Linked DNA regions of Homo sapiens: all the other regions are linked to region 2. Evidence: promoter capture Hi-C in human tissues and cell types (Jung and others, 2019). All regions are on one chromosome and are shown on one strand. Each heading gives the region's core, a stretch centred on a gene start or on the middle of the fragment in contact. The rest is flanking DNA. Distances are from core to core; before and after follow the strand shown. Region 1 overlaps HEXB (hexosaminidase subunit beta). Region 2 holds the start of FAM169A (family with sequence similarity 169 member A). Region 3 overlaps GFM2 (GTP dependent ribosome recycling factor mitochondrial 2). Region 4 has its middle 8.4 kb from the start of HEXB.

Region 1 (2,700 bases), core at 68-2,567, 170 kb after region 2:
AGGCGGAGGTTGCAGTGAGCCAAGATTGCACCACTGCCCTCCAGCCTGGCGACAGAGCAAGACTTCAACTAAAAAGAAAAAAAAATAATAATAATAATAATAATTTTTGGCTGGGCACGGTGGCTCACACCTGCAATCCCAGCACTTTGGGAGGCCAAGGCAGGTGGATCACCTGAGGTCAGGAGTTCGAGACCAGCCTCAACATGGAGAAACCCCGTCTCTACTAAAAATGCAAAATTAGCTGGGCGTGGTGGTGCATGCCTGTAGTCCCAGCTACTCAGGAGGCTGAGGCAGGAGAATTGCTTGAACCTGTCAGGCAGAGGTTGCAGTGAGCCGAGATCGCGCCATTGCACTCCAGCCTGGGCAACAAGAGCGAAACTCCGTTTCAAAATAAATAAATAAATAATAATAATAATAATTTTTAAATAGCATAGTTTCATCATAATGATCAAGTGAAGGTGCAAAAAAACATGGGAGGAAACCTCCCCACCCCTACAAATTGGCAGGTGATGGTGGGGATTAACCAATAAAAAAAAGCCCATAGGAGAAAACAGTTATTGTCAACCTTCTTCCTAACCCATACCACCCCTGAGGTTCCATATTCCTTTGGAATAGTTCCCTAGGTATAAAGGAGCTCCCGGACTCCTTTCTAATGCCACTTACAAAAAAAGTAAGAGGTGGTCACAAAATTTAAATGGCACTAACTAGAAGTATGGTGTGGTGGCCACGTATTCCTTTTTTTTTTTTTTTTTTTGAGACAGAGTCTTGCTCTGTCGCCCAGGCTGGAGTGCGGTGGTGCGATCTCGGCTCACTGCAACCTCCACCCGGGGAGGGTTCAAGCAATTCTCCTGTCTCAGCCTCCCTAGTAGCTGGGATTACAGGCGCACGCTACCACGCCTGGCTAATTTTTGTATTTTTAGTAGAGATGGGGTTTGGCCATGTTGGCCAGGCTGGTCTCGAACTCCTGACCTCAGGTGATCCACCTGCCTCAGCCTCCCAAAGTGTTGGGATTACAAGTGTAAGCCACCGCACCTGGGTGGCCATGTATTCCTAATCAAAAGTCTAGACACATGATTTGACAAATGGGAGTATATGTAAAGGGCCAATGGGCAGTGTTTAAACTGTCCTTCTCTTAACAGTCTTGGCTAAATACATGTTATACGTGGCTCTCGCACTGAAAACAGGAGGGTGATTCTCAAGGGGACCTCCACGTCACAGCTGAGGAAATACACTTCCCTAGGAACTGAGGAAAGAATGCCCAGTGCTTATACAAATTCCCCTGTTCCAAACTACACAATAGTAACCAACATAAAGTTACAACATAAAGGAGACATCTTCAGAATAGACAACAGATTAGAATGAAGTAATTACTTACCAGAGTTTTAAGAATAATCTTAACTGGCAGATAATGTCTGGATGTATCAATCAAAATTCCTCTGTGAGAAAACCTTGGAGAATCAATAATGGTGGATTCATTGATGGTGAACTATGACAAAATAAAATTTTGATTTAGTTTTAGAATTTTCTGTTGTCTTGAACTCAATGAAGACTAAATCTATTTATACAAGCATTTCATAAAATATTAATTTAGAACAACAAAAATGTATGAAATTTACATTTACCGGCTAAGACAAATATCTGGGGAAATGAAATCTTCAGGAAGCAATAGCTAAACAGGTTACATTTTTTTCTATTAGCAATTTGTCTAACAATTTTTAGTAACATATAATAATCATACTTACAGTTCCATAAGAATCTTGATAAACTAACTGGCTAAAGGTCTCTAAACCTGAGGAAAGTAAAATTTATTGCATTAATTTATAAATCAACAAATTGAGATGATAAAAGTTATATTATTCAAACAGACTCATAACCAGGTAAGGCAAATATAATTGAATATAGTGTTATACCTCTATCCTCTAAAATATATTGTTATACCTACACCCTCTACCATAATTTCTAAAATCAAAGCCAAATTAAAAAAAAATCCATTGCACTTCTCTACTCATCTAATAAAAGTGCTTTACTTCATTGTACCCATACCCTGGGGGTTGTTTCAATATAGACAAAAGAAGAATAGTAATTTAATAAAATACTGGTTCCTTAATAAATTTATGGCATCATGAGAAAGAATTTTTATAATCAAATATAGTCACTTTTAGAAGGTATCTAAATGCAACAGGGAAAAATGGCTGGAAAAACCATGAAACTATAAATAAAGGCCAATTTACAATATACAGCATTTTACTTATAGCTGCAAAGACTACCTTCTGAACATTTTTTACTCAAGTGGATTATTCCCTTAATATACTAGTTGACAGGCTAATTCTTCTAACTGGCCTTGACTTTATTCAGATTCCTCATTCTAGCTGACAGCTATATAGCCAGGGAATTTTTAACCTAAGAACAGTTCAGTCATCTTTGCTACGCCTTCCTGTCTCTCCAACCTCGTCAAGTACAGGTTCATGCTGGGAAGAATAACTCTGAAAGTTTCTGTTAAGTGACATTACGTTCAATAATGATCAGTTTAGAGTACATTACTCTGAAAGTCTGATGGTAAACAGAAAATATGGACTTCTTGGACTAGAAATCTAGTCACTGCATACTCGCAAGAGTGGTTTTATCTTTTTTTTTTTTTTTTTAGACGGAGTCTTGCTCTGTCACCCAGGACGGAGTGCAGTGGCGCGATCTCGGCTCATT
Region 2 (2,700 bases), core at 18-2,517:
CCCAACTACCCAAAATTCCTGCTCTATTAAATCTAATTCATTAAGTTTCATTAAAATGGTAAATGATGTGTAATAGTAAAGATTTTGGCTAATTAAATATTATACAAATGAAACAATAGATTCTTATATGGCAGAAAAGCTTTTTTTAAAAATCAGGGTCAAATATATCTATATCAACAAGCATTCTTTGAAGTATTTTTTGATCTTGCTAATTTTGCTAATCATTAGTAAATTCGTGAAAGTTGGTATTGTGATTGCTAAATATTTCCCAGGAATGAAAGAAGCAATTTTCAACTTTTCTGGATGAGCTGAACATAATACTACGGTTCTTGGATGATGAGTAAAAGAAAGTCTTGACATTAATACTTAGATACAATATTGTTTCTCAATACAGTTATTAAATATATTTAGACTACAATACGCATTACCTTAAAGACAATTTATCATGTTTTAAATGCTGGAGGGCTAATTTTCAGTAGGAGTGTGTAATTAGCAAAGGCGCCAGAGGCCATAAGACGGTAGAATAGAGCTGGGAGAGGCACGGGAGGAAAGCCGGATGGAACCCTGTTGTCTTTCTGGGTCAGGGTTATTCTGTACCGGTTAAACGGTGAAAGAGAAAAGGTCAGCGCAGGAATGTGGTATTTCCCTGACATCTCCAGATGAAAGTCCGGGCTCTAGGACTTCTGTAGACTGTGAAAGCAGCCCACGATTCTAACTTGCATGCACCTAAGTGGCAGTAGGTTTAGGATGAAAGTGGTGGGGCGGAGGCCGGCGGTCCTCGCCCGTGCCCTCTGCACCCCTGTCCCGAGGCCGGGATGGCCGCGCCCACTCTGGGTAAATTTCAGGAGGGCCTACGCGGGGCTGGAGAACTCCACCGGGCTATGCGAACAGAATCCTGCGAAGGTCGGCATTAAAGGAATACGCAAAATCAGCGTTGCAGCCCCCGCGGCTTAACCGCATCTATTTTTATATCTAAGCCAAGGTCACTCTTTAATACCAGGCCATTGCCCTGAGCTGGGCGTCGCGCTGCCGGGTGACGGCGGCCGGGGCGGAGAGAGGGGGCGCGGGTGGCGAGGCGGGGGCCGCGTGACGCCCCCGGGCTGGCCAAGCCCGCACCTGCCGGGCCGGCGCCTGAAAGCCGGGGCTGGAGGGAGGCAGGGCGGCGTCCCAGGCTCCGAGGAGGGGCCGCTCCGCGCTGGCGGGCGGGGGGATTCGCGGTGGGCGCGGGCGCGGAGCGGAAGCGAAGGCTGGAGGCGCTGCGGCGCTAGTGCGTCACGTCGTCGGAGGGCACGGTGGGCCGCGGCCGACCCGCGACGAGGAGCCGGGCGTCCGGGGCGAGCGGGAGGCAGCCGCACTCGCCCTGGCAGCCGCGAGCTGTGCGGCCTGGGACCGGCCGGAGGTCGCCAGCGAGCAGCCGCCGGCTCCATTCATTCGCGCGGCTCCGCCTCCTTTCCCGGGCTCTTCCAGCGGCTCCCGGGGCGCGTCTGAGGTGAGTGCGCTCCCTCTCCCCGGCGCGGACCGCTGGGTGAGGCCGAGACGGCCGCGCCGGGCCCCGCGCCCCCGCCAGCACCAGACCCGCGGACACCGAGCGGCGACGCGGGCCACCGGCTGTGGGCGGCCCCTGCGGGCTGGGCCTGGCGCAGACCAGTGCGGGCCGCCTGGACCCGGGGCTCGCGTCCAGCTGGCGGCGGTCTGCGGGGATCCCGTAGGGCGTGTGGCGCCCCCAGGTGCGCCGGCCTCCGCCTCGGCGCCACCATTTTGTGTGAGGGAATGCCCGTCTTCGCTCGCCTCCGCCGCGGGCCGGTTCGCAGCTGCGGCTTGCCGCCCCCTCCCCTCGCCCTCTCCCCACCTGGATGCTTGGCGTGCGAGCTGATTGCTTTGGCTTGGGGAGACGCGGACTCGGGGAGGTGTGGAACTTCAGCGTTTAGACTCGGTTCACCCGACCAGGTGGCCTCCAGAGATGCTCTGACCGCCTTCCTTTACCTGTAACTACTTTTGGAACAGATATTGTATGATTCTCCCTCCTCTGGAATGCTGGTCGTTGCAGTTTTGTCCTAATTGTGTTCTCAGCTCTCCATTATGCCATTTTTCAAGAGGCCTGTGCCTCAGGAGGTGAAGCCTTGAACCCTGGGTGGTTTATGGCTCGGGGGTCTGGATTACACTGACTCCCATGACTGTCCTTGGGGAGAAAGGATGAAGCATCTCACTGGCTTTTCAGCGTCTGGGAAGCGGCGTGGGTATCGTATCGGGTGGATTCGAAGATAACCACCTGATGCAGGTCACCTTCCCCCGCTGGGAGAGCCGTTCCTAACGTAAATTAAAACGTGTGTACGGGTTTTTGGGGGATTGGGACCGGAGGGACATATTTCTAAAAAATTTCCAGAAGGGAAAGTTTTCATTGTGATTCTCACAGAACTGTGACACAATTTGTCATTTTCAAGGTTCCTGAGAATTTGGGAATTCTTTTAATTCGTTGGCTTCTTGCGAATTACTACTTACGAACTGAGCAGATTATACCCAAGCCATTTATATTTTGTCATTGCATCACAGACAGGGATTACAATCGGGAGTGCTGGCTGTTGCATAATGCACACATTTGGGCCCTGGAGGGAATTCACCGAAGTGGATCTGGGTTTGGTGTGCCATGCGTTTTTATTTTTTACACAGGATGTACAGATGATCTTTGCAAACTACGTCCCT
Region 3 (2,700 bases), core at 109-2,608, 140 kb after region 2:
TGAGGTGGGCAGATCACGAAGTCTGGAGTTCGAGACCAGCCTGGCCAATATGGTGACCCCGTTTCTACTAAAAATACAAAAACTAGCTGGGAATGGTGGCGAGTGCCTATAATCCCAGCTACTCAGGAGGATGAGGCAGGAGAATTGCTTGAATCCCAGAGGCGAAGTTGCAGTGAGCTGAGATCGTGCCATTACACTCCAACCCAGGCAACAGAGTGAGACGCCATCTCAAAAAAAAAAAAAAAAAAAAAAAAAAGAAACCCCCACACATAAAAGAATATTAACTCATAATAAAATTAAATCAGAAAACCATGAGAAAAAGCACAATGAGCAAAAAGGCAATAGAAACAATAGGTAGTCATACCAGCAAAGGCTTCAGTTATTGGAATTATGAGATGTAGAATATAAAATACTATCTTTGAAGAAATAAGAGAGGCGATAGAAAGTACAGTTGACCCTTGAACAACATGGGTTTAAAGTATGTATGCAGGTACACTTACACATGGATTATTGTCCTGCCTTTGCCATCCCTCAGACAGCAAGCCAAACCCCTCCTTTTCTTACTCCTCAGGCTATTCAGTGCAAAGATGACGAGGATAAAGACCTTTATGATGTTCTACTTTTACTTAATAAATAGTAAATATATTTTCTCTTACGATTTTCTTGGTAACTTTTTTTTCTAGTTTATTGTAAAAATACAATATAAAATACATGTAACGTGTTAATTGACTGTTTATTTGTTGGTAAGTCTTCCTGTTAACAGTATTCTATAGTAGTTAAGTTTCAGGGGAGTCAAAATTTAGGCATGTATTTTTTACTGCATGGGGGTTTAGCACGCCTAGCCCCCACATTATTCAAGGGCCACTTGTGTTAGTAAGGAACAAGAAACGATCAAAAATAGGTGCGATGGGCATGATCTCACATATGTGGAACTTTTAAAAGTCTAACTTGTAGAAGAGTAGAATGATGGCTACCAGAGGCTGAGGATTGGAAAGCTGGGGAAAGGAGAGATGTTGATGAAGTGGGGTACGGAGTTTCAGCTGGACAGGAGAAATAGGTTCTCATGATCTGTTACACAGCACAGTGACTATAGTTAATAATTTATATTTTAAATCTCAGTACAAAGAAATAAGTTTTTTGACATGATAGATGTTAATTTGCCTGATTTTTATCATTCCACGATGTATACATGTATTGAAACATCACATACCCCATAAATATATACAATTATTTGTTAATTAAAAATGAAATAAAACATAAGAAAGGATAATGGAATATCATGCTATGTGTGAGAGAGGAAATGGTCAAAAAATGATGGTGAGGGGGTATATAAGGACACAGGAACCAGCTTGAAGAGACTCTGCTGGCCAAATCTGGATTAATTTGAATACCAAGTATAGACCATTGGGAAAAAATAGTTTCTAAGTTCATACTTATAATAATACATAGGTAAATAGGGAAGAAGAGGGAGGGGTCTTCCTCATAGTGGAATGCCAAGTGCTGACTGTTAGAAGTTGGGGAGTAGGGCTGGAGTCGGAAAATAGTGCAGACGACTCTCCCAAACACATAGAACAAAAAAGTTGCCGTATACATATGGCATAACAAATTTAAAATGAAGCAGAAGTAAACTATTGCTTAGAAATACATGCATATGTGATATAACACTAAAGAAAATAATGAGGATAACATATGATAGTGGTTGCTTCAGAAGGCATCTAAATATTGGTAATACTCTCTTTAGTAGTTTTAGGTTTCATGAATGCTCATTTTTAGCTTGTACATAAATATGTATATACTCATATATAAACGTATATTTATATATAAACATGTATATATTGAGACAATGTCTTGCTCTGTTGAGCAGGCTGGCATACAATGGCAAGATCTTAGCTGACTGTAGCCTTGAACTCCTGGGCTCCAGCAATCCTCCCGCCTCAGTCTCCCAAGTAGCTAGGACTACAGGTGTGCACTACCATACTCAGCTAATTTTTATTATTTTTTACAGAGACGGAGTCTTGCTATATTGCCCAGGCTAGTCTCAAATTCCTGGCCTCAAGTAATCCTCCCACTTTGGCTTCCCAAAGTGCTGGGTGGGATTACAGGTGTAAGCCACCACATCCAGCCTGTATAATTTTAAATAGAAAATGTTTCACAGTATAAAACGTAAGCATACAAAGGAATTATGAAGAATTATAGACTATAATTCTTAGTTTTGAATTTGGGCCATGAATCACTGCATTACATGGTCCCTCACATAAATATGGCATAGTTTTGTTTTAGTAAAATATTGGAGATTGGTAACAGACATAGTAAAATATTGGAGATTGTTGGTTTTTAGCAAATAAGAGATGCTGTTTTCAATCTTACCAAAAACACTTTACTGGTTTTTTGGGAAAGAAATTGTAAACAGTAAGTGCATAAAATATTGCTGGAAAAATACACAATATAAAACATTTTGTGGGTTGTCAGGATTTAAAGTCGTTTAATTTTCATTAGCTTACCTTTTATATTTGTAAAGGTTTTATCATTTAATTTTTTTAATATAAAAGTTTGTAACTAAGAGGATTTCAATCACCTACAAGACATTTTGAAAAGTTTAAAAGTATAATCTTCGTAACATGTGCCTCAACATATCTTAATGTTAAAACAATAGGTGATACAGAGCAGGTTTTTAACATTGATCAACACAGAAGCAGATGC
Region 4 (2,700 bases), core at 7-2,506, 190 kb after region 2:
CCACCATGCCCAGCTAATTTTTTGTATTTTTAGTAAAGACGGGGTTTCACCATGTTGGCCAGGCTGGTCTCGAACTCCTGACCTCAGGTGATCCACCCTCCTGGGCCTCCCAAAGTGCTGGGATTACAGGTGTGAGCCACTGCTCCTGGCTGCACTATTTAAATCGTTATAATTTTGAGTTATGCTTTGATATCTTGAAGAGCATGCACACACATTGTTTTATTTCTAAAATTTCTTCCTATTTTAAATAATTTTTCCTTCCACATACAGAGCGATATAATGGACTGTGGAGACTCAGAAAGGGGAGGGTGGGAAAGGAGCTAAAAAAACTACACATTAGGTACATTGTGCACTACTCAGGTGACCAGTGCACTAAAATCTCAGAATTCACTGCTATATAATTAATCCTTTTAACAAAAAACCACTTGTACCCCAAAAGCTACTGGAATAAAGCATAAAAAATAATAATAAAAAAAGACTTAATTTGAGGTAGTTTCTTTGGAAAATAATTCCAAAAAGAAGCAGTGACAGTGGGGAGAGCGAGACAGGAAAGGAAGAAGATTAAATAAAGACCTGTTATGAAGGTGCACTGTTGAATTGCTGGTGTTGGCAAAGAGAGCTGAACTTGGCATGGACCTCTGAGAGTAGTACCAAAAAAAAAAAAAAAAAAAAAAAGAAGAAGAAGAAAAGAAATGCAAACTGTTTAATAGAATGCAATACAGCTGTCCTGCCCCAATAGAATCTGAGAGTAAAACTGATATTTATCATATTTCTCCTTTACCACCAGAGAAAATGAAAATATCTCAGAGCAGTCTGACCTATGTGAAATCTGCAGGCCCAGAGAGGCAAGAGTTTGGAACTTAGTCATGCAAATGTGTAACTGGCCTCCCTTTATGCTTGGGGGCAATTGTTTATTTTGTTTTTTTCTAGCTGCTTCATTCATTATCTTCATGTTTCTGGAATTTGTGATGCAAAGAACAACGTATGCTGGGTGCGGTGACTCATGTAATCCCAGCACTTTGGGAGGCTGAGGCGGGTAGATCACGAGGTCAGGATATCGAGACCATCCTGGCCAACATGTTGAAACCCCATCTCTACTAAAAATACAAAAATTAATGGGGTGTGGTGGCGGGCGCCTGTAATCCCAGTTACTCGGGAGGCTGAGGCAGGAGAATGGCATGAACCCAGGAGGTGGAGTTTGCAGTGAGCCGAGATCCCGCCACTGCACTCCAGCCTGGGTGACAGAGTGAGACTCCGTCTCAAACAAAACAAAACAAAACAAACAAAAAACCAGAGAACAATGTATAGCCAATCAATAGCTTATGTTATTTTAATGTAAATTCTGGATAAACAACTAGGAACTGCCCCTTCTTCCACCTTCCCGCACCGCTCCCCTTTTTTTTGAGAGAATCTCATCTGTCATGAAGGCTGGAGTGAAGTGGTGCAATCTCAGCTCACTGCAACCTCCGCCTCCCAGGTTCAGGCACTACCCCTGCCTCAGCCTCCCGAGTAGCTGGAATCACAGGCATGTGCCACCACGCCCAGCTAATTTTTGTATTTTTACTACAGTCAGGGTTTCACAATGTTGGCCAGGCTGGTCTTGAACTCCTGGCTGAAGCGATCCACCCACCTTGGCTCCCAAAGTGCTGGGATTACAGGAGTGAGCCACTGCACCCAGCCCCTTCTTGCCCTTTAAAAATTTGCATGTGGGCATGGTGGCTCATGCCTAAAGTCCCAGCACTTTGGACTGGCACTTCAGTCCAGAAGCTGAGGTGGGAAGATTAATTGCTTGAGGCCAGGAGTTTGAGACCAGCCTGGGCAACATAGTGAGACACCGTCTTTACAAGAAATAAAGTGCACTTGTAACTGTTCGTAATCAGAGTGTATATTCAGGGCAATTTGAATCTATGCTCCTGGGTTGCACTACTCAAGCTTGGCCCAAATAAACTCCTCTACTTGTATTAATAATAATAATAACAAAAATAATTTTTCCTTACATATGAAATTAAAGACTTGATTGACAAGGTCCAAAACAAAAAACAAAAACTGCTATTGATAGGAATTGCATTCACATTATAGCTCAATTCAGAGAAAACTGACATCTTTGCCATATTGGGGCTTTCCACTTAGAAATACTTTCTGTTAATTTATAAAGTTATTTTATGCTTGTCACCAAAGTCTTATACTCTACCTAGGTCTTTCACATTTCCTGTTAGGCATGCTTCATTCTTTTTGTTGCTGCTATTCATAAGATTCCCTCCCCACTCAATTTCCTCTGAGAGATTATACAAGAATGAAGTAGAACTTTAGGTGTTGGCCTGGAGAGATCTTTCCACTTGCTGCTTATACCACCACCTCACCCCCCGACCCCAGTCAGCTGTGGAAACACAGCTAACAAAGTCATCTTTGTAAAATGTAAAGTCAGTCATATCACTTCCTTGCTTAAAACATTTCAATGGCTTGTTCCCCATTGTCTTTAGAATAAAATATAGGATCCTTAATATGGCCTGCACAGTGTGGCAGAATCTGGCATCTGACCACCTCTCTGACCACATCACTTGCACCCTCAGTTGTGTGCTCCAGGGGCAGTGACCTTCATTTACTTAAATCCACTGAGCTTTCTCCTCCCTCACAGAATGGCCTCACATAATAGCAAAATGAGGAGGAGAAAGAGAACTAGTGGAGCCTCTTGTTGCTCTT

Evidence for each region. Contacts are between HindIII fragments. The study calls those that stand out against the background at their distance.
Region 1: a contact is called between a fragment that was not itself captured here and the fragment with the promoter of FAM169A in region 2, in 2 of the 25 tissues and cell types used here (dorsolateral prefrontal cortex and hippocampus).
Region 3: a fragment that was not itself captured here is called in contact with the fragment with the promoter of FAM169A in region 2 in 2 of the 25 tissues and cell types used here (dorsolateral prefrontal cortex and hippocampus).
Region 4: a contact is called between a fragment that was not itself captured here and the fragment with the promoter of FAM169A in region 2, in 1 of the 25 tissues and cell types used here (heart right ventricle).

The regions. Positions count from the first base shown.
Region 1 is chr5:74,695,782-74,698,481 of GRCh38, reverse strand. It overlaps HEXB (hexosaminidase subunit beta), which reads right to left. Exons shown (of 14, transcript NM_000521.4): 4 at 1,743-1,789; 5 at 1,376-1,486. Among named protein-coding and RNA genes, the nearest start is that of HEXB, 12 kb to the right of the region's middle. The HindIII fragment of the contact is 9,009 bases long and covers 1-2,700 here.
Region 2 is chr5:74,864,954-74,867,653 of GRCh38, reverse strand. It overlaps FAM169A (family with sequence similarity 169 member A), which reads left to right and starts at 1,267. Exons shown (of 13, transcript NM_001376049.1): 1 at 1,267-1,489. It overlaps FAM169A-AS1 (FAM169A antisense RNA 1), which reads right to left and starts at 1,761. Exons shown (of 1, transcript NR_134288.1): 1 at 379-1,761. RefSeq lists silencers at 1,331-1,580, 1,651-1,820. The HindIII fragment of the contact is 6,065 bases long and covers 1-2,700 here.
Region 3 is chr5:74,726,305-74,729,004 of GRCh38, reverse strand. All of the region lies in intron 17 of GFM2 (GTP dependent ribosome recycling factor mitochondrial 2), which reads left to right. Among named protein-coding and RNA genes, the nearest start is that of GFM2, 39 kb to the left of the region's middle. The HindIII fragment of the contact is 8,588 bases long and covers 1-2,700 here.
Region 4 is chr5:74,675,466-74,678,165 of GRCh38, reverse strand. It overlaps a transcript of HEXB not described here. Among named protein-coding and RNA genes, the nearest start is that of HEXB, 8.4 kb to the left of the region's middle. RefSeq lists a silencer at 1-30. The HindIII fragment of the contact is 6,960 bases long and covers 1-2,700 here.